Linked DNA regions of Homo sapiens: all the other regions are linked to region 6. Evidence: promoter capture Hi-C in 16 types of primary human blood cells and fetal thymus (Javierre and others, 2016). All regions are on one chromosome and are shown on one strand. Each heading gives the region's core, a stretch centred on a gene start or on the middle of the fragment in contact. The rest is flanking DNA. Distances are from core to core; before and after follow the strand shown.

What was found. Contacts are between HindIII fragments. The CHiCAGO score rates a contact against its expected background, and 5 or more counts as called.
Region 1: a contact is called between a fragment that was not itself captured here and the fragment with the promoter of LMNB1 in region 6, in 2 of 17 cell types (total B cells and neutrophils). The highest score is 7.2, in total B cells.
Region 2: a contact is called between the fragment with the promoter of SRFBP1 here and the fragment with the promoter of LMNB1 in region 6, in 2 of 17 cell types (monocytes and activated CD4 T cells). The highest score is 6.8, in monocytes.
Region 3: a fragment that was not itself captured here is called in contact with the fragment with the promoter of LMNB1 in region 6 in 1 of 17 cell types (naive B cells); the score reaches 10.5 in naive B cells.
Region 4: a fragment that was not itself captured here is called in contact with the fragment with the promoter of LMNB1 in region 6 in 1 of 17 cell types (M0 macrophages); the score reaches 5.9 in M0 macrophages.
Region 5: a fragment that was not itself captured here is called in contact with the fragment with the promoter of LMNB1 in region 6 in 1 of 17 cell types (monocytes); the score reaches 5.1 in monocytes.

What each region holds. Positions count from the first base shown.
Region 1 is chr5:123,417,428-123,421,446 of GRCh38, reverse strand. It overlaps CEP120 (centrosomal protein 120), which reads left to right. Exons shown (of 20, transcript NM_001375405.1): 2 at 2,932-3,088. Among named protein-coding and RNA genes, the nearest start is that of CEP120, 4.0 kb to the left of the region's middle. The HindIII fragment of the contact is 2,509 bases long and covers 1,181-3,689 here.
Region 2 is chr5:121,960,590-121,964,458 of GRCh38, reverse strand. SRFBP1 (serum response factor binding protein 1) reads right to left here and starts at 2,484. Exons shown (of 8, transcript NM_152546.3): 1 at 2,391-2,484. The coding sequence starts at 2,426. RefSeq lists enhancers at 2,499-2,548, 2,293-2,831. The HindIII fragment of the contact is 3,156 bases long and covers 1,108-3,869 here.
Region 3 is chr5:123,662,127-123,665,823 of GRCh38, reverse strand. No RefSeq gene overlaps it. Among named protein-coding and RNA genes, the nearest start is that of CSNK1G3, 150 kb to the right of the region's middle. The HindIII fragment of the contact is 2,086 bases long and covers 1,148-3,233 here.
Region 4 is chr5:123,530,612-123,534,651 of GRCh38, reverse strand. All of the region lies in intron 1 of CSNK1G3 (casein kinase 1 gamma 3), which reads right to left. Among named protein-coding and RNA genes, the nearest start is that of CSNK1G3, 20 kb to the right of the region's middle. The HindIII fragment of the contact is 1,414 bases long and covers 1,248-2,661 here.
Region 5 is chr5:123,506,919-123,510,442 of GRCh38, reverse strand. No RefSeq gene overlaps it. Among named protein-coding and RNA genes, the nearest start is that of CSNK1G3, 3.5 kb to the left of the region's middle. The HindIII fragment of the contact is 1,938 bases long and covers 911-2,848 here.
Region 6 is chr5:126,775,558-126,779,068 of GRCh38, reverse strand. LMNB1 (lamin B1) reads right to left here and starts at 1,933. Exons shown (of 11, transcript NM_005573.4): 1 at 1,202-1,933. The coding sequence starts at 1,560. LMNB1-DT (LMNB1 divergent transcript) reads left to right here and starts at 2,583. Exons shown (of 4, transcript NR_134485.1): 1 at 2,583-2,774. RefSeq lists enhancers at 267-356, 1,372-2,172 and silencers at 847-956, 1,167-1,216, 1,527-1,606, 1,807-2,456, 3,107-3,156. The HindIII fragment of the contact is 4,360 bases long and covers 1-3,511 here.

The DNA of each region.
Region 1 (4,019 bases), core at 1,186-3,685, 3.4 Mb after region 6:
AGAGGCCTGTTAGTGCTAATTGGGAGAGCTGTGCGATGTGTGTTAATATTCCTAATACAGAGTTTCAAGTGAGAGCCTCAGGCTTAAACTCAAAAGGTTAGCAGTCAAGGTCTTTCTGACCAGCTTGATTCCCAACCAAGTAGCTTGTGCCGGGGTGAGCATGGTGGGTGGAACATTGAAAAGATCAGCAAGATGACCAGGGTAGAGGAAGGTGAATATTTAGAAATGTCATGGTAAGAAATGAGCTTGTACAACTGGAGCGAATAGGCCTCAGAGGATCTTGAAAGCCAGTTTAGAATTAATGTTCCAAGAAATAGGTTGGCAGCATATATTCCTAAATAGAATGCTTTTCTTGAGTTCAGTTTAGTAGCAGTGTGCAAGGAAGAGAACCTGGAGTCAAGGATGTCTGTTAGGTTGTTTCCACAAACATACCCAAAACTAGCATGTGGTCCTCCCTCCAAACTATTCTTCTCTCTTGTTCGTACTGTATTTCCATTCATCATAACCATGCTGTTGCCTTAAGCCAAGAACCAAGGAGTCATCCTCAGCCTGGATTCACTCTCCATTTCTAACTTCCAAATGGTCATCAAGTATAATTGATTTTATTTTCTGAATAATAATAGATTCTACATACGAGTTTTTGAATGAATGAGTTTACATTGTGAGTGCCTTGGTAAGGGGCCCTCATTATCCACCTAACTTACTGTAATAATCTTTTCAGTAGTCTGATTCTTCAATGTTTTCTTCCTTTCCAGAAACATCTAGACTTCCTCCTTTACTCCCTGGGGATGATCTTTCTGAAATGCAAATCTGATTTTCTTAAAGTCCTTCAGTGTCCTAAAGGATAATGTCTGTATTTCTTAGAATGGCATACATGGCCCTTTGTGGTAGACCTCTTGCCTACCTTTTCAGTCTCATTTCCCCTCATGTATTCTCATCCCTTTGGCTTGGTGGAGGACTCGGGGGACTACAGTCCTTAAGAGTTAACTTGCAATTTCTTGACTACACTTTTAGAAATGCCCTTTATTTAAAAGAAAATGGTTAAGCTTTTACCATGAACAAAATTTGGGCTATGTACTAGATTCCAAGGATGAAAAAGACCATTTCTGTTATCTCTGTATCATTGTCTGCAGCAAGGCAGGCATCTGTTTGTTCCCTTCACATCCTCTGTTCTCAAGCTTGTTGGAAGCTGCTAGTTATAATAATATGGAAAATATAGGTTCTTTGACATATATGACATTCATTTGGGGAAGCTAGGTATCTTTTGGAGCAGCAGAAAATGAGGTCCTGAGATGGGCCTCTGTTAATGCTAATTGGGAGAGCTGTGCGATGTGTGTTAATACTCCTAATACAGAGTTTCAATGAGAGCCTCAGGCTTTAACTCACAAGGTTAGCAGTCAAGGTCTTTTTAACAGCTTAATTCCTACACTTCCCCCACAAGTAGCTTGTACCAGGGTGAGTAGCAGCAGGGATTTCTTCATTAATCAATGGATAAAATTCCCCTCAATAAGATCCACCTTAACAGATTTATAAACAAGAGAACTAGTTGACTCAGTGCAAGATTCTTAGTGCTTCTTCGTTGATGTTCTTTAGCTTCCTATTTTCAGTTTTTTTTGGTTTGTTTCTCTTAACTAGATCCTCAGTTTTTTTAGAGCAAGTACTCTGTTTTACTCATTTTGTACCCCACCATCTGATAAAATACCTGACTCTGAATATGTCTTCAGTAAACATTGATGAAATGGGGTTTGGCAGTACAAATGAAAAGTGATGTGTAGATAGAATATTTGAATATTTCCTGATAGTGTACAGTGTTGTCCTTGAGAATAGAATGAAGGAATCCATGTGGCTATTTTTCTTTAGCTAATTTGGAAAGTATTCTGTTTTTTTTTTTTTGTTTTTGTTTTTGTTTTTTTTTGAGATGGAGTCTTGCTCTGTTGCCCAGGCTGGAGTGCAGTGCTCACTGCCACCTCTGCCTCCCGGGTTCAAGCTGTTCTGCCTCAGCCTCCCGAGTAGCTGGGACTACAGGCGCATGCCACCACACCCGGCTAATTTTTTGCATTTTTAGTAGAGACGGGGTTTCACCAGGAAAGTATTCTTAACTGAGTTAACAGAAAAATTAAGCTGCAGGCAAATTTGTTTTTACTAATTTATTTCCCAGCTCTTCAGATGACTGTTCTCTATTAAGTAGTGCAATAGTAGTACCTAAAATTCGTGTAATCACATTAAGTGTTTAATTCCAGATGTTGTTGAGATCATTCCTACTCAAAGTGTGGACCAAGGACAGCAGCATTCACATCACCTTGGATCTTGTTAGAAATGCGGAATCTTAGGCCCACCCTAAATCTACTGAGTCAAAATCTACATTTTAACAGGGTCCCTAGGTGATTCATGTGCACACTAATGTTTGAGAAGCACACATTTATAAATTATAGCTTTCCATTTGATTCATGTTTCTTATGAATTATGGAAGTGAGTGTATATGTGAGCCTGCATTAGTGAGGTAGCTTATGGAATGCATGTCAACCACACTTAACAGATCATTAGTTTTAAAAAAACACATGCTAGGCTGGGCATGGTGGCTCATGCCTGTAATCCCAGCACTTTGGGAGGCCGAGGCAGGTAGATCACCTGAAGTCAGGAGTTCCAACATGGCAAAACCCTGTCTCTACTAAAAATACAAAAATTAGCTGGGTTTGGTGGTGTGCACCTGTAATCCCAGCTACTTGGGAGGCTCAGGTAGGAGAATCGCGTGAACCTGGGAGGCGGAGGTTGCAGTGAGCTGAGATTGCGCTACTGAACTCCAGCCTAAGCAACAGAGTAAGACTCCATCTCAAAAAAAAAAAAAAACCAGCCAAACAAAAAAACACATGGTAAATGATCCTGTTTGATTTTTGTACACTTTTGATTAATCTATATATTCTGTTTCTCCAGGTCGGCATTTCCCCAAACGTCCAAAGCATATGCTTGTAGTGGAAGCAAAGTTTGATGGAGAACAGTTGGCTACTGATCCTGTGGACCACACTGACCAGCCAGAATTTGCTACTGAGTTAGCTTGGGAAATTGACAGGAAAGCGCTTCATCAGCACAGGTGATTATCATTTTCATTTTAGCTTCTTTATTGGTTTCTTATTTTTCAGGCTGTTATAAATAAATACAGTTTGAGTATTTAATACTTGGGACCAGAAGTATTTTCGGATTTTTGGAATATCTGCATAATCAAAGATACCTTGGGGATGGGACCCAAGTCTAAACATGAAATTTATTTGTTTTACATTATACGCATAGTCAAAGGTAGTTTTATATAATATTTTAAATAAATTTTCATAAAATGAAGTATGTTAAATGCTTGTGTGTGGAATTTTCCGTTTGTGGCATTATGTCAGCACTCAAAGTTTTAGAATTTGGAGCATTTCAAATTAGGAATGTTCAACCTATAAATTTTGTATCTGTCATTACGTTTAATAATTATAGTTATTGAGTGTTTTTTTAAATGTGACAGGAAATTTTTAAAGTACTTTGCAACAATAACAGTTAAACATCAGAACAACACTATGAAGTTGTTATTTTTATTTCGCCCATATTATAGATGAGGAAACCGAGGCCTGAGATGTTAAGTATTAGTAACTTGTTTTAAGTCTGTTAGCTTAGTAGTGGTAGAGCCCAGGCAATCCAGCTTCAGAGCCTAAGCTTTTACACTACACTTACACTGAGCTGTTTGGGTTTTTTTTTTTTCCTAATGTGTGAGACAGTAGATATTCTAGAAATACCTTGATGATACCTACTCATTATTAAATATGGTTGGAATTCCTTGTAATTTCTGTTAATTTATTTATTGTATATTTACCTGGCTTGCCAAGGATATATAGAGGGGTATCCAGTGAAAAGTTATGAAAGTAATTCTATCAAGGTTTCTTTCTAATTAATTTATATTTAATTTTAAACAAAACCACTTTATTAGTATATAAAATAGACTTAAAGTTATAGTATATATTTTTTGTGAACTCTGACTAGAAGCAGGC
Region 2 (3,869 bases), core at 1,235-3,734, 4.8 Mb after region 6:
GAACAGAAAACCAAACACTGCATGTTCTCACTCATAAGTTTGAGTTGAACAATGAGAACACATGGACACAGGGAAGGGAACATCACACACCAAGGCCTGTCGGGTGGGGGGAAAGGGGGAGGGATAGCATTAGGAGAAATACCTAATGTAGACGACAGGTTAATGGGTGCAGTAAACCACCATGGCACATGTATACCTATGTAACAAACTTGCACGTTCTGCACATGTACCCCAGAACTTAAAGTATACATATAAAAAAAAAAGATTAAAGTTTGAGAAGAGTCAATGTAAGTAGTTGGGAAGCTAGTACAGTAGCTGTACTAGGATTCTAGTGGTGATGGAAAAGAATTGAAAAGATTGAAAGCGAATTCAAATTATTTTTCAGATACATTTCCTCCTTGAAGAAGTTAATTCATTTCTTCTGCCTATTTTCTGAGATGGTTTCTTTTAATTTCTATGAGGTATTTCCTATTAAGGGCATTAGCCCTTTGTCATATCTGCTGTATTTTTTTTTTCTAGTTGGTTGTCATTTCTTTTCTTTGGTAGGTTATTCAATTTTTATGTAGATAAATCTCTCTTTCCTTTTGTGGGTTTTTTTTCCCACTAATTTTAAATTATAATATCCTCCATCATCTCCACTTTTTTCTGTCCTTTTTATCTCCTTCACATTAGAACACACTAGACTTCAGTGGTGGATGTGTGTAGTTCCTGCTTTCACAAATTCATGTAATCACCTAGTAAACATATGTGCTACACATGATAGACACATAAACACAGGAAGACAGAAACAGTTACATAAGTGTTTCCAGAGGAGAAAGCAATCTGGGTGCACAAAGAACAGACACCTAACCCAGACCGAGAGGAGTTAATGAAGGTTTCCTAAAGGTCAAATTTTAACTGTTTTGAAGAAGAACAAAAGTTAGCTAAGTGTGAAAAGAGTCTTTAATGACTCATCCCCTGTCATTTCCATCATCAAAGTCATTACAAAATTTGATATGAAGCTCCCTGGGGTTGAAATCCCAGGGACATTACTCTGATCTTTCATACATCACAGGTAACCTAATGCAAAATAGCCCACCAAACGCTTTCTGGCACAAAGCACAAGCTTAATGTATGTTTATGAGTAAATAGTAACTACTTTCAGCTTCCCTCTTCAGCATATCCTGTACTCCACTGTCAACTGAAATCCTGACTCGTTAATCTGGCAGCAGAGAATATATTTCAGTTTTATTTCCTTCTTCATCTCACAAGTTCCCATCAGTGAAGAGTTACTTATCCCTGTATTACCCACGGGTTCTTCTGCTACTAGCCCTTTCCTGCTTATACCAGTCCCTCTGCCTGGAATGACTTCTTCCCCTTTCCTGAATCACTGACTGCAATTCCTGTGCAAGATCCCTAAAGACCAAGGACAAGTATCACCCATTTCATTTTGCCGCCTTTGGAAACTTTTCTGCATTACTAGGTTTTGGAGGCATTCTTCACACATTGTTCTGTAACACAGGTGAGTGTTGCTTAGCTCTCTTACTTGAGTATAGGTTACTAGAAAATATGAAATATCCCTTACACTACTGTGTGTAATCTAAACAGTGACTTGCTCATAAACGGGATAAAGAATTTCCTTTCTGTATCTAACTGTGAGGTCCTTACTCGATCCTTATGTTTCCAGCTTACTTTAAGACTTTGGATGACATTATTTTGTTGAATAGAAGCAGAAACCAGAGGGGGATAAGTGGTAGAAATGGTATTTTGTCGACACCGCACACTATGGAAGTGACGGTGGTGAGAACAAATGTCTGATGAGAATGGACTGAAAAAGCAGAAAAAAGAATTGAGGATAGCAAGTATAAACAGCTCTTTATTGAAGTTCTGCTGTAAACGGAAGCAAAGAAATAGGACACTAACTGGAAGAGGAAACGAAGTACTGAGCATACAGTCTCATTCAAGACCACCAATTTCTTAGAAGCTACAGCTCTTACTTTCTCTCTTTCATTTTCGACAGGCAATAAAGAGCAGGTAATGTGTACTGAAAGTTTATTAAGGGTCAGGCACTTGCAAATACTTTACGTATCTCAGTTAATCTCACAACCCTGGGACGAACTATCTTGAGTTCCGCTTTACAGACGAGAATATTGAACGTACAGGCTAAAGGTTCTTCCCAAAGTCCCACAGACATAAATTCGTGGGGCCTGACACATGTCTCTCACTTTAGTCACCTGGAGACCGAAAAGGGAAATTACCGGTTGCCAAACTCCAAGTTGCGGGAAACCCGCCTGGGCCCACCACGAAAGTTCCTCCAACCGCACCCTCTATGCCCGCCTCCGACCACGCGTCTCAAAAGAGCTGGTTTTGAGGACCCTTAAAGTCAGCCCCATAGGTTCCTCGGCGCTCACCTCGTTATTGAGGTTCAGAGTTCCCGGCTGAGCCATGGTAGATGAAGGAATATGATCCGCCGCTGCCTGCACGTGAACCGGTCTCTCAGACCGCGGCTGCGTCGCCACGCCCCTCAACGGAAGCCTCTTCTGTCCAAAACTCATCCGCCTTCTGCTCTAGCTGCCGCCTGGGAACAAGAAACATTGACGCTTGGAAGGGAAAACCGGAACTGAGACAGAACAACTACCGGCGCAGAGGGCTACGCAACGGAATTGCGCGTTCCTATGGAAACCAGACGGGGGCTGGTAGCTGGGCAACGTCTAGTTTTTCAAGATTCGGTTTGTGTGTGTGTGTGTGTGTGTGTGTGTGTGTGTGTGTGTGTGTGTGTGTTCCCTTGGTACACTGCGCTCGCATTGTACCGGCCTTGGTTTTTCTCTCTAATGGCTAGGGGGGCGCTGAACGGCGGTGAAAGAGCTCTTCTGAAATGATCACTTGAATGAACGATTTTTTGCTTCCATTTTTTTAAATCTAGTATTTGTGAAGATTTCTGCTTTTCTAACAAGCACACCTTTTTAAATCCTCGCAGTTTTTTGTTACAACCTGACATTATAGCTGAGGTGCGGACATTTTTTTCCTGCACACTATAGAAGGGTTTAAATTTAGGGAATAAACATTTGAAGCAAAACCAGGATACACATTTGGTACTGCCTGTGGGAATGGCTGTTTATTAGCCGGCAAGCATAGGAGACGTAAGGGAGTGTGTTTGAATTAGGTAATATATAATTGTCAACACCTTCTAGTATTGACCATTAAAATGTGTCAAATGGTGGTCCAAGAGCTTTACATAAATTAGCTCCAAATCTCCACAGAAATCCAACAAGATAGAAATTATTTTCCTTTTATTAATATTATTTTGTTAGAGACCCAGTCTCTCTTTGTCATCCAGGCTGGTGTGCAGTGGCACAGTCATAGCTCACTGCAGCCTCAAACTCTTGGGCTCAAGCCATCCTCTCACCTCAGCCTTCCAAATAACTAGGACTACAGGAGTGAGCCACCCTACTCTGCTCTGAACTATTATTTTACAGATGTGGAAAGTGACTTCAGAGGCACCAAGTGCCTCGCCCAGAGTCACTTGCCTGGGACTGTCCACTGCTACAGGACTTCAAGTCCAGCTACATAATACCTGGGGTACAGTGCAAAATGAAAATCCAGGCCCCTTTATTCAAAATGCAGGAAAAACGTTTCTTCCGGCGGAGGGTGGTGGCTCATGCCTGTAATCCCAGTACTTTAGGAAGCCTAGGCGGGCGGATCACCTGAGGTCGGGAGTTCGAGACCAGCCTGACCAACGTGGAGAAACCCCGTCTCTACTAAAAATACAAAATTAGCCGACCGTGGTGACGCATGCTTGTAATCCCAGCTACTCGGGAGGCTGAGGCAGGAGAATCACTTGAACCTGGGAGGCGGAGGTTGCCGTGAGCCAAGATCACTCCAGACTGGGC
Region 3 (3,697 bases), core at 941-3,440, 3.1 Mb after region 6:
GAAGAAAGCAAAGAAGAGGATAGATAGATGATAAAGTAAATAAATACAATTGTGACTTCCCTATGTGTCAGAGATTTCTTGCTAACTCATAGTTGATTTGTATTCATAGGGTAGAATATCAGTGAGAATGTATTCAAAGCCATGGCCTAAAACTCAAACTACCTGCTGTACTCTACTTAGCCTTCCTCTATGCTATCCATCATCAAATAGCTGATTCAGGTGTGCATTAAAGATGAATAATAGTCAGAAAAAAAGTCAGCTTGGGGCATGTACAAAGACAGTACCAAAACCTAAAGAAAAGAACATGGCAAACAGAAGACAAAAAATATGCAATACTGAAACACCAATCAGGCAAAAAATTAACACATAAATCGGGCACTCAAAAAATGGTACTCTTAAAATATCAGGAATTTAAAAAATTATAACCCCTCTGAAACAAGAGTTCAGACAAGATATAATAGGAGTCAAGGGAAAAGATAAGAAAATAGAGGTAATGAAAAGTTATGTGTCAGAGTGAAAAAATAGAAAGAAAAAATAAAACTATTACGTACATGAAGGTTACATTAGAGGCATCAAAAGAAAAAGTCATTTCTGAAAACAGAAAAATGTAAAATAACACAGACTGTTAAAGCATTAGAGGGAAAATTACCATTATGGAACCAAAGGAGATCCAACATGTGTATAATTGATATTCCTAAATAAGAAATATCACAGAATAAATATTCAAAGATATAATAAAATAAAATTGCCCTAAAGTAGAAAAAGAATCAAATGAATAAATTAAATTGGCATTGTGTATTTTTAAGACAACTACTATAGTATAAACTTGGAGATGAATGGAGAAATCATTGTAAAGACACTACCCAACTGTGAGAATTAGAAGTACTATAGAACAAAACATAAATGTAATAGGTCAATTTAGAAATGATAATAGAATCCACTTCAAGTAATATAAGGAAAGAAGTGGGAGGGGAAGTAAGATAAAGAGGAAGCATACTCACCTCAACATCTCTTAGAAGGGGAGTCAAACAGACATTGAATCTTAAAGTAATAACACCTCAAATCATGACTTACATATGTAAACACATTTTTAAAATAAACATCTTAGAGCATAGAGCAATCAAAAAATGATTAAAAACTAAAAGCTTACTAATAAAATTACAAGTTTTAAGTCCAAAGTAGTTGTCAAAATTCTGAATGTAAAGGAGAAGAACATAACCCATGTGTGTGTATATAATCCCCTCATGTTAGATCAAGAAGGAAAAACTTTCTATATAAAATTTTCTGAAAGTCTTGAAGAAAAAGAATGGCAAAGATACACCAGTAAACAAACAGACAGACCAGAAACTGCTGGTCAAAGAGGAGTCAGAGATCCACTGAGTTGTAGTTGAGAGACCCTACTCTTCCCTCATCCATGGCAAGGACAATGAAACCAAAATTTAACACATAATCATAATAAATAATAGCCCAATTTCAACACACCTCACTGCCTCTTTCGATGTTTATTCAACAGCATCAACAATTTTTAAAACCTTTTCACTATATTTGTAAGTCATTTTAAACTGAGAATTTAAACAAGCCTATCCTGAATCAAAGATTTCTTTTTTTTAATAGCTGTATTTCACGGTTGCTTTTACGAAAACAATACTTTCCCTTTTTACATAATTTTTTAAATTCCTTTTTATTCACTGGCACAATTTACTTCTTCACTCTAAAGAGAGGAGAAGAAAAAGGACTATCTGAAAGGTGATGGTAACCCACTGAGTTTGATATTATTTGCATACTTTTCACAATATGGTTCAATGCTTCTTCAAAATGCACTAAAGCGGTCTAACAGCCAGAAAAAAAGCTATGTTATAATCCTCCAGGAAAAGACACCTCCATAATATTCCATGCAGCTTAGGAGAACTCTAAGGCTCATGGAAAATATGAGCTGTTCCTAACACCAGAGAATCATAGGACAACGGGGAAAGTTGTCGTATTCCCCACCAACCTGGGTGTGATAGGTCTTCCTACTGAGGACATGATGACTGGAAATGACAATCTAGAAAATAACTGAGAGCCAAAACAAAAAGCCACCAGGATGTGGCAGGCAAAATTTTCACTGGGAAGTGTCAAGTTCAATAGAGACCATGGATACCACAAGGCTGGACATACTAGTAAGAAAGAAAGTCTCAGCAGAATTTACCAATATGTATCATAAGTGCCCAACCAGAGGAGTAAATGAGTCCAGGTGATTTTAATACATGAAATTGTAATTAATAAAAAAAGTTACATGTACCTAATCTGAGGTCCTAAAATTATTACTAGTTAAGCTGTAACATTTGAAAGTGAATTCATTTTAACCTTTCCACTAAAACGGACCAACAGGTTTTGGGTGAGAGCTTGAGTCAGTAAGAAAAAGATAAATCACCAAGAAGCTGTTCTCTTTTGTTCTCCTGCTGAAATGATTGTACAATATTTACATGAGTTGGTGTGCTTTCATGAGTTGACCAATCCTATCTAAATAAACATTTAAAATGCATATCTTGGGTATTACTTGTGAAATTAGCTAGGAACATTGTTTCCCTTGTGTCTTGAAAGACAGCTGACATGAGTAGTATATTGAAAGGGGGAAGTGGCTGAGAAAGGAAAAAAGCAGATACATGAGAGAACAAAAAGCTGAAAACTGAACGAACACATTATTTTCCTGTAGTCTAGATGTTCACGGGGCCAACAATTCACTTTCAAGCCTTAACTATTTTATTTATTTATTTATTTATTTATTTAGAGACAGAGTTTCACCCTTTTACTCAAGCTGGAGTGCAGTGGGGCGATCTCAGCTCATTGCAACCTCTGCCTCCCCGCCCCCCACTACTGGTTTCAAGAGATTCTCCTGCCTCAGCCTCCCCAGTAGCTGGGATTATAGGTGCCCGCCACCATGCCCAGCTAATTTTTGTATTTTTAGTAGAGACGGGGTTTTGCCATGTTGGCCAGGCTGGTCTTGAACTCCTGACCTCAGGTGATCCACCCACCTCAGCCTCTCAAAGTGCTAGGACTACAGGCATGAGCCAACGCACCTGGCCAAGCCATTAACTACTTTAACAGAATCACTTTCTTGAAAAAGTTATTTGTGCCTTAATTTCATATAGCTCATCACATAAAAATAAAAAGGCCAGCTGGACTTTGCATTCATACATTTTAGGACTGCCACTCTCCCAGTTAGGAACTGTTAAGAAGACAGTTGAGAAGCTTTTGTTTTTAAATCCTGAGGAAAGCAGCAATGATCACAATGAAAACTTGGAGTGCCTCTGTGAGCCAGGCTTTCTCACACATACCATCTCACATAGTTTAAGTGAGAGAATGCAAGGTCTTGAAGAGAAAATGGGATTTGGTTCTAAGGGATGAGGTTGCGGGTGGGCTAGGAAACAACTGGAAATCTCGGAATTAGTGGGGGATGGTTCTGGTTCTTATATAGAAGAGACCAGAATCTCCCTCTAATACGGTGTCCTGATGAGGTTGACTGAGATAAAAATGAATCCTAGGAGGTATGGCCTTGGCTGCTACAGAAGAATTTCCACTGGCTTAGTTGTTTATAGGGAAAACTGATGCTCTGAACAACTGACCAACCCACTTTTAAATGTTCCAACTGGACTGAAACAACGAGCAGGGTCTGATCAACTATGCTCACAGAAAACCAGAGCCCCTAGTCCAGATT
Region 4 (4,040 bases), core at 705-3,204, 3.2 Mb after region 6:
GTGTATAACTGAGAGCCCCAGCTTTTTGCTGGCTGTCAGATGGAAGCCACCCTCAGTTTCTAGAGGTTGCCTAGAGTTTCTAGAAGCTACCTATAGTTTGCCATGTGGGCTTCTCCAAAATGGCCGCTTATTTCTTCAAGCCCTCAAGAAAAATCTCTAGCTCTGATTTTCTAAGACTGAGTATTATATAAGGTAGCATAACCTTCTCTTATACCTAAGTCCCAAGCTTTGTATCCTGCTCCAACACACCAATTCTCCCAGGTCTTGGAATCCTTGATAGCTGCTTCCAGACCTCTTTATATTATAAAGAACATAGAATTAAACAAAAGTAGTCCTAGAATCCCATTTAGCTCCTATGTAGTTGTACAGCATTGAGCAAGACACTTAATCTGTCTAAGCTCATTTTAATAATTATAAAATAGAAGGATTAGACTTGGAAATTTCTAAGGGTATTCTTATATAATATGCAGTTTTATAATTGCCTGTCGTATTTGATGACAAGGGCTCTAGTATACGTAACTTTATGATCCCTGAACCTAGCACACTGCCTGACACCTAGGACAGTTAATACATACTGTAGATGAATAAATGAGTTCTTTCTATCTCTAAACATTTCTAGTCAATAAACCCCATCCGTGCACAGGATCCCAAGAATTTTATGAAGAAAAAAAACAGCAGAGAAAACAGAACAGCAAAAGAAACCTAAAGCATTTACCCAGAAATATTAGCCTAGTCCCTCAATCACAAATATAAACTGACAATCAAGCACCACTAGATACATCAGGAAAGCTAACAATATGAAAAACACCCTCTTCCAAAAAATAAAAAATAAAAAAAAGAAAAAACCTCTGGGGGAAGCAGATCATATGAAGAACAGAAGAGAACTTACTTTAAAAACAGCAGCAAAAATTGAAACAATTAGCCCCCAAGGGCTTTTGAGAAGTATAATAACACATAAATATATAAGAAAATAATGCTGCATTAAATGGAATAAACAAGAACAAAGTGGGGGAATAATCCTAATATTTAAAACAAAAATATAAAGACATTAAAAAATAAAGAAAAAAAGACGGAAACAATCCAATACCTCCAACTTCCAACTAATAATAAAAATTAATAGGGAGGACAGAGAAAATTAAGAAAAAGAAATCATAAAAGAAAATTTTCCTAAGCTGGGGCCAAAAGGGACCTCAGAAGGTTAAGAAGGAAAGAAAAGCAACTCTATCATACTACTTGATTCAAAAGCTTGTCATAATACCGTACGATAGATAACTGATTTTCAACTTTTAAATTCAATCTTAGCAAAAAGAAAAAATGCAAGATAAAAGTCCTGTAAAAATATAAATTTAACCAACCTTGACAGTGTTAAAATAATACTACAATTGAAACTGACAGAAGCTCAGCTGTTAATGGGAAATAGGTAAGGTAAAAGGAAGGACGGGGCAAGAATATCCACATCCTGCAAAGTACAGAGTTAAGAGATAACCTAAAAATTTACTAAAACAAGAAATAGAGATGTAAGAACATTATTTAAAGTGTCAATGGTAAGTAATAGATTAAGTAAACTTAATAACTACCCAAAAATTTAAAGACAGAAGGGAAACTGGGAGTATGTGAGTTAAATTTCATCCTTAGTGGAGAATTAAAAGATAATACAAAAATTTGACATAGTATCAAAGAGAAAAGTGTATGCTTATTATTTAGAATTCATAAAAGTAACCACCTGAAGCATTTAAAACTAAAATAACTAAAACTGGTTCTATCTACTGAAAAATTCAAAGACTAGAAATAAAGGGCAAGAGACTATTGCTTATATTTCTTTTCCACATACGGGCATTAATTTAATAGACCTATTAATTCTACTATCAACAAACGAGTAACTTGCATCCTAAAGATAACTAAAAAACACTGTGAAATTTGAGAAGAATATTTCAAAAAATTTAACAGTACAAAGTATTAAGTGCCTCTACAAATCAGTTTTTGCTTTTGTTTGCTTACTTTTAATGAAAACAGACGCCATCAATAATAGTGGAGACAGCTGTGGAGTTCTTAACATGAAATCCATACACTTCCTGAGAATTTTCTAAAGAGAAAACCACAGTTTTCAACAGGTTTGATATCAAAAGATTATGTGATCTTAAAAAAAAGTTAAGAACCACTGAAAAGAATACTGTTATTTTCTCACTGAATTGCTTTATAAATATATTCTTAGAAGCAATCTATCCTAAAAACTTAAGTAATATCAGCACTTTATTTAAAAGCCAACCTTGTTATAAAAAATTATTTAGGGCAGTTTGTAATACATGCACTACAAAAAGGATGAAGAAAAGATTTACATAAAAAAATCAGCAGAGAAGTAAAATGATCTTAGAAATAAAACTATGTAATACTAATATACCATGAGTTTCAGTACCCATTCAAAGCAAATGTATTTTTGCACTTTATAGTAGTCAGGCAAAAACAAAAATATGATTAGAAATAGAATTAGCTACAAAATTCAGAGTGTACATTAAAATTATACCCGTTGCTAAAAATACCTTACTATTACACCAGTTGCTAAAAATACCTAAATATTCTTAAAAATTAAGAGTAATCTTAATATTGTATTATACCTGCAGATGCAGTCAATGGTAAAAACTGAAAATTTCCCTCACAGAAGCTTTAGATTCAAAAATTACAGGAAGAGAATGGAAAAATGCATCTTGAAAACTTAAAAATTAGGCACCCATTAAAATAAAAACTACTGAGAGAAGACTCACAGAAATACCCCCTGCTTACAATTTTTTGTAACATAGTTACTTGTACTGCTCTACATTTTTATTTTTACAAGAGATATTGCCTCTTTAACTGAAACCTTAATCCATCTACTACTAAAAATAACAGATATACATTTAATGTAGCATAAAACTACATGTGTGAATAAATGGTAATAAAATATTTACAACTTCAAATCTGTAATTATTCTCAGTTTACTAACTTATTGAAATATCTACATTCAAAAGGAATTCTTCAAAAGAAAGCTTTTAAAAATTATCTTTGAGAATGAATATAAATAATTTATTTGCTTTCACAAACAATTACAATTTTGATATAGTAATATCTACTAATAAAGATAAAAATGAGCTGCTAAATACAGAAAACATTAGACATAATCTGATTATATGAATAGAAATGTCAGCCACTGGCATACTTCTAATTTGATGACCACTGATGAATCTACAAAACACAGAACAGAAAATCAGATTCTCTAATATGCATGGCCCAATAATTTAGGACTTGACAAAGCCAACTGACCTCCTTAAGACTGCAAACTAAGTCTTAAGTCTTAGTCTTAAGTCTACTTAAGTCTAAGGAGAAAGTAGTCTGAGAACATATCGGTATTAAGTATTGAAAGTTCCTATAGGTATATTTTCATATTTAGCATGTTATTCAATATTGTTTACAAGTATAAATTTACAACAAATGGAAATTTAAAAATCAAAATTTATAGTCAAATGTTACTTGTCATAGAATTGATTTCCCACTGCTTCGTTATCTCAAATGAAAACCTCCAAATTTAGTATATGAAACGACTCATTCAGTGTTTCAAATGCTTTATTCAGTCTCAATAAAAATTATATTACAATACATGTCTTCAGCCTTCTCCAAAATTTAAATCAGTAAAGATATTTGTGATGTGAAGGCTAGCCGTTACATCACATGCTTCTATTAGCAGCAAGTGTCCCAGTTACTGGTTTCTGGCATTAGCTCAACTGTGGTTGTCTAAGAAAAGAATAAACACTTATTTTTAAAAGCTAAATCATTAACTGTAATGTCAAAAATGGATATCAATTTCTAAAATTACATACTACAGAAACTTTTTTTATCCCAGAAAGATTTAGTAACTATCATCTACAACACTTTACAGTTTTGAAACTTGATTTCAGTGATATCTTTGTACATTCCTATTAAGACCCAGGAATTTCTAGCTTTTAAAAATTACCACCCAGTTTTGTTTAAACAATGTTCTCCAAACTGTGGATCAGGGCCCATTAATGGGC
Region 5 (3,524 bases), core at 630-3,129, 3.3 Mb after region 6:
GTATTTATTAAATTATATTAGAAACGTATGGGAATAAATGTTTACATTTTTAACACTGCAGGGAAGACTTTTGGTTAAAATTTGGCCTATAAGCTCCTATAGATTAAAATTGGCAAAGCCTGGTGTAGTGGTGAATGCCTGTAGTCCCAGGAACTTGGGAGGCTTGAGGCAGGAGGATCTCCCAGTAGTCTAAGGCTAGCCTGGGCCACATAGTAGGATCTTTTCTCAAAACAAAAAAAAAAAAAAAAAAAGCAAGTAACCTAGGTAGGAGGCAATTAAATTTTCAGGTCATTCTATTAACTTATAAGAAAAATTGGTTTGGGAGGCCGAGGCAGGTGGTTCACCTGAAGTCAGGAGTTCAAGACCAGCCTGGCCAATGTGGCAAAACCGCATCTCTACTAAAAATACAAAAATTAGCCAGGTGTGGTGGTGTGCACCTGTAATCCCAGCTACTCTCGAGGCTGAGGCAGGAGAATCGCTTGAATCTGGGAGGCGGAGGTTGCAGTAAGTGGAGATAGCGCCACTCCACTCTAGCCTGGGCGACAGAGTGAGACTAAGTCTAAAAAAAAAAAAAAAAAGTATGTATATATATGAAAAATTGGCAATGTGAAAACAGCTTATATTAATGAAGGAAAAGCCAATACACAGGCATTGCAAGCAAAACTCTTTATCTTATAGCATGATGCTCCAACCTAAGCAGCCAGATTATACTTGTCAATCTGCTATATTACAAATCAAATAGTTTATTTGTTGTGTCACCTCACATTTCCTGGCATTGCCACTCTTCAGGTATTTATATTCTATTAATATTTTCATTATGATTATTGCATAAATTCATGTGATACTGTTGTCACAAGTTTTGTAGTACATTGGAAACTTGCATTTATCAAATTCTCTTTTCACAAAAGCTTTCTCTACATGTCCTGCAGATGCTTTGTGTGAGACAGAGAATGGTATGTAGAGTTTGTGGAATGTAAAGCTGGCCATTTTTTCTCCTTTGTAAGCAGTAAAACTTAAAGTTGAAGAAAGATGGAAATGAAACAGTTTGATTATGGTTTTAAGCAGGAAATTATGAGACTAAGATATTTACTAAGACTTTTCAAAATAAAAACAGATAAAACATTCATTTCCTTCTTTCAAATATTTTGTTTAACTGTAATGGTAAACCTGGCATGGTGATTAACTGGTTGCCAGAATAAGGCCTGAGGCATCACCAAATTATACTTAATTCTTTATTTTTTAACATTATTTTAAAGGAAAAGTACCTGGAAGAAAGATGTAATTAGGAAGAAGTAAACAATGAAGTAGAACGGGGAAGGATGCAAAATGGAGAACTGTAACAATAGCCAGGGGCTGGGAGTAGAGCAACATATTTTACTACGATGAAGAGGAAAATAATTTCTTCCCCCCGTCAAGCCTACAGTCAAGGGGAGAGACAAGAAGGATTGTGGGAGAAAGCCAGTCACATACAACAGCTAGATCAGGTTTTGGGGAAGCTATCGCTTAGCAACCTTTATTTTAGACTGTTACATGAGTACAGCTCGAAAAAGTCAAGACACTGTTTTATACCATCCTTAGAAGGATGATTTGAAGTATTTGGTAGGTGGTAAAATAAATGTACAATAATCACAAAACTTTTCTGAGAGGCTTTATTACATGTTATAATGTTGATCTTCAGAAATGTTTAATAAAATCACATTTCCAGGATTCCTTGTCTTAGCTCGGGTTGCCATAACAAAGTATTGCAGACTGAGTAGCTTAAGCAATACAAATTCATTTTCTCACAGTTCTGGAAGCTGGAAGTCTGAGATCAGGATGTCAGCATGGTCAAAGTCTGGTGAGATCTTTCTTCCTGACTTTCAGATTGGCACCTTCTCCCTGTGTCCTCACATGGCCTTTCCTCAATGTGTGGGCATGGAGAAAGAGGGTGATCTCTCTCTCTTCTTCATCTTAATCCTACAGAAGTCCCCACCTTTATGACCTCATCTAACCCTATTACCTGCCAAAGGCCCTACAAATTCCATCACATTTGGGGTTGGGGATTCAGCATATGAACTTTGGGGAGACAAAATTCAGTTCACAGCACTCCTCAAAGGGGTATTTTCCATGCAGAGAGTATATCATCTATAAATTAAAGGTAAAGGCTAGACAGGATATTAATAAGAGAAGACAACTTGTAGACCATGTTAAAACCTCATGGAGAAAAGAATACATTCTTAAGAGAGAGAACTTCCATGAAGAAAACGCTCCATAGGGAAAAGCTAAAACACCATAAAAATGTAAAAGTGTCTTGCCAAAAAGAGTGACTAAATCTCTAGCTAGGCAATTTAATTTTTGTTTTTTTCCATTAGCAGACCTGAATTTTGGCAGTTTTTATGTAAGTTTGGCTATCCAAAGAATGTTGTTTTGTGATAAATGGAAGTTAGCTAAAGCTGTGATTTTCTTGTAATGGTTTCAAGAACAGCTTGAATTCTGAGTAATATATCAATCTAAAGTTTGGAGATGGTCATAATAATTAGTCCCTGTTCCATTTTCCCTCTTCTTGTCTTCTTTTGCTCCCCATAGTTATATCTTCATATTTCTACCTCAAGAGTCCTTCCCGGCTCATGAGACAAATCTGAGCAAGACTAAATGTCTCATCAGCCCCCACCTATAGGAACCATGCAGCCCTCTGAAGATGTAGAATGCTAAGCAAGAGTACTGGATTAGAGGTAGACTTCAAGCTGTGCCACTTCCCTATATCCCTAATATTTTCCCAGTCTATAGCACTGGACTTCTCCTTTGCTTTTCTTTCATAATTGGAACTGTATCAATTCCTAAGCTCTCATCTAATGTGAAGGTTTAAGCTTGGTTTGGAAAATTTTTCACTAGTCCCTGTTCTGACTAGATCCTAGTTCATTGGACAGGATACTGTTATGATAGATTACCCTCAAGCTACTGAACTTCTTCAAACATCACCCACTGACTAAGCTTACTGGATTACTATATCCTTCTGCTGAATACGACTGCATTGGTGCCACAGCTTGTCTATGCCATCTCTGAACTTCATGTACTCTGTGGACAGTGAGCAAGGGCCTACCTGTGGGGATCAGCCTCTCTAATTATGTTTCTTTAGTCTCAGTCATGCTTGGTTATGCTTGGCCTTAACGTCATCCCTTTCTTCACCAGCTAGTACTGCTAAATTCCTGACATGTCTTCATCCTCCCACCTATGCTTATTGTGGTATCAATGCCATATCTGTCCGAACAAGATCACAGGGTCAACAGAAATTAAAATTGATGTGAGAGGACACTTTAGTTTAAATTCTCACTTCTGTTTAGTTCTCATTCTACTTCTGCTGTAATTAGGATTATACTACTTTTTGGCTTCCTTCTATATTCCTTCCTTATGCAAGCTTTTTAAATAGTCTACACCTCAGCTCATCTGTAAAATGAGGCAATAGTATCTGTACCATATTGATATCGGGAAGATTAAATGAATGATAATCTACAATGTACTTATCACAGTGTCTGACATATAGTAAG
Region 6 (3,511 bases), core at 684-3,183:
ACCTCCAGAAATTTCAGCTGGCAGTGCTAATGGCGACCATGAATTTCAGACCCAAATTTTGCAAATCTCTAAAGCATGACATCAACACTTGTTGCCTACTGATGACAGGCCATTTTGCTTATCAGAAAGTCAAAATAAGGCCAGCAAAGGTCTGCAAATGTATCCTTGTGCACTGGAATGAAAACTCGCACTCGCTTAGGTGAATTACAAACTCTCCTTCGCTCAAACACTCAGCATTTACACAGCACCCTGTCACCTGCCCTGGTCTACTATCTGCACAGTGGTCGACTAAGGGGTACTAAGCACAGTCTCTACCCGAAAGCCTGACTATACTACGAGGAGGCAAAAGCTGGGGACAGAGGGCCGCTGCCTGAGGGGTAGGAGAACCGCAATTCTAAGAACGGTAGCCGTGACATGCACAAACCCAGCTTTCCTTCCCTGCGCAGAACCACCCGAGGGACCGCACCATCCCCGCTGGGACAGGACACATTTCCCCAGAGAAAGCTAACCAGCTAGCAAACCTAACTTGCCCGGGGCTGGCTGGAGGCGCACGGATCAAGCTCCGCCTCTCTCTCCCGCCTAAAGCAGGCGTAGAATCTTCGCAAAACGTCACAGGGCCAAGACTGAGCGCGCCAAAGCGGGACCCACCCCCAGGAGACGCGGATGCTGCGGGAAGGTCCCTCCCCTTCCTCTCTCTGCCCGCGCGAAGCTCATTCATTCTAGAGGCGGGCTGCCAGTCCTCCCCGGCCGCCCATCCCGGCACTGCAAATCCGCTAGACGCTTTGTCTCGCGCCGGCCGGAAACTGGGGCGCGCACGCGAGCGCGCGCTCGCGCTCCAGCTCCCCGCACCTGGGGCCTGAGGGGCCGCCTCTCCGCGCCGGCTCCCCGGATTCGAGTGCGAAAGCGGGAGCTCCTTCTCGGCAGTCCCAGGCGCGCACTTACCACGTCCCAGCGGGTATCCAAAATCTAGAAATGGGCATCACGGCCCCCCAGCGCTACAGCTCGAGCCCCCTCCGCGACCCCTGCTCCGCTATGAACTCTAGATTCTTTCTCCTTTCCGGAGACCGAGACCCTGTTCCTTCAGAAGGACGCGTGCATCCTGGCCTCTGCTCCCTCCCCACGGCAGAACCCGGTGAGCTGGTCGCCGCGGTTGCGCCCCCGCCCCTCCTTGGCGCTAACGCGGCCGCCAGCTAGCACTCACTTGAGGAGCAGCTGGTCGTGTTCCGCCTTGCACTTGCCCAGCTCGATCTGCAGCTTGGCGCGCTCGCGGGCCGTGTCGTCGAGCGCGCGTCGCGCGTCGGCCAGCTCGGTCTCGTAGAGCGCCTTGAGGCCGGTGAGCTCACGGCCGCGCACCTCCTCGCGCTCCGTCACCTGCAGCTGCAGCGCGCTGTTCTCCGTCTCCAGGCTGCGCACCTTGTCGATGTACACCGCCAGCCGGTCATTGAGCTCGCGCAGCTCCTCCTTCTCCTGGAGCCGCGACAGGCGCGTGGGGCTCAGCGGCGTGGTGGGGCCGCCAGCGCGGCTGCCCATCCGCGGCGGCACGGGGGTCGCAGTCGCCATGGCGGGCGGCGGAGACAGCGGGGCGGCGAGGCCGCGAGCGGGACCGTGATAAGGAGGGGACGGCAGGGGGCGAAGCGGGGACCGAAGGCACAAACCGGCGACCTGCGCTCACGTCCAGACGCTGGCGTTTAGAGGAACGGAGAAGCACCTGGGATGGCGGGAGCTCGATTACAGCACAAAGGGCAAAGGCGCGCGGGGGGGAACTACGAATCAATCGATCGATCGCGAAATACCCTTTGTAAGAAAACACACACACCCACTCACACACGCACGCGGGAAAATGCAAGACGAGGGTGACTGGAGGCCCAGCAGGGTTCGCGCCGCCGCCGTCTCCTGCTCGCAGCACTTTGTTTCCTCTCAGGCTGCACGGAGCGGCGGGCGGGGGGAGGAGGGCCGGGAGGGGCGGGCTGGAGGCAAGCCGCGGGGGGCGGAGGTGGCGCGGGCCGCGGCGCCGCACTCCCCAACATGGCCGGCACGCCCCGGCGCCTCCACGTGACTACCATGGGCCAATGGGGAGCAGGCAGCGCGCTTCGGCGGTTCGGGGGCCGGGCCTGTAAATTTAAAATCTGGCCCTTGGGCAACCGTCAGCTCGGCCCTCCCGGCTGGGCGGTTCCCGGACCAGGCTCAGGGCTGTAAGGAAGGACGCCTGGGACTGCCCACCCGCGCGGCTCTGGGCCCAGGGCCCTCCCGCCGCCCCGCGGGGACCCCTTGGAGGGGCCGGGCCTGAGAAAGGCGGGAAGGAGCCCGGAGGTTTCCGGGACGGATCTGCGCCACCGCCCACACTCGGCGGTTCAGGGAAATTCAAATATAAACGTCCCTAAAAGCCACACGCGAAACTCAGAGTGTCCCCGGCCACCGCGGGCGTGGTAACCTTATCCCCCGCTCCGCTGGAGGGCTCGGGAAACGGCCTGGAGGCCGGGACGCTGTGGAATTACGTAATAGGCACTTGAGTCCGAGGTTCCAAATGCACGGCTTGCAGGTTCCAAGTACCAGCCTTTATTTTTCTCTCCGGTGGAAAACTGTATCAGGCAACTTCTTTCCATGAAAGTGAGATCTGTGCGTCTTGAAGCCGATAGATTATCACAGAAAAACCAGCAACCCTGATTTTAAATCATTTGCCAACAGTGTTAATGGGCGGTTCCTAATCCGTTTCTTAATTTAAGGGTTTGTAAAATCAAAAAACAGCTCAGAAATGATACGATTAACATATGACGGTGAGTAACTACGAGAGCAAGCTGTTTCATACTCCGTTAAAATCAGGTACATAAAAATCTGAACTTGTGAAAATTTAAGATGAAATAATTTTTTGCTTTTAAAAAGAGGCTCCCAAGATGTCACTGGCAGCTACTTCTATTAGAAAGCACATTCATCCCTTTGAAAAGTTCCTAATTTTTAGCTAACATTTATTGGGACTGAGTGCCAGCACCAGGCTTTTCATGGATTACCCATCCACACAATCTCCGTGTGATGTGGGAAACTGGATTGTTTCTATTTGAAAATTCATCCGGGCGGGCGCGGTGGCTCACGCCTATAATCCCAACACTTTGGGAGGCCGAGTGGGGGAGGATCACCTGAGCTCAGGAGTTCAAGACCAGCCTGACCAACATGGTGAAACCCCGTCTCTACAAAAATACAAAAATTAGCCGGGCATGATGGCGGGTGCCTGTAATCTCAGCTACTTGGAAGGCTGAGGTGGGAGAATCCCTTGAACCCGGAAAGGGGAAGTTGCAGTGAGCCGAGATGGCACCATTACACTCCAGCCTGGGTGACAGGGAGACCCCGTCTCAAAAAAGAAAGAAAGAAACCATCCATTTTATAGATTCACTGTCTGAAGGCTGCTCCGCAGGACTGCGTTTGACAGGTCCCAGGATTCTAATTGACTCGAGTCTGGCCCTTAGCTATACCCTAGATGACCACCTTACCACCTATTAGGAACGCTTCTGTAATTAAT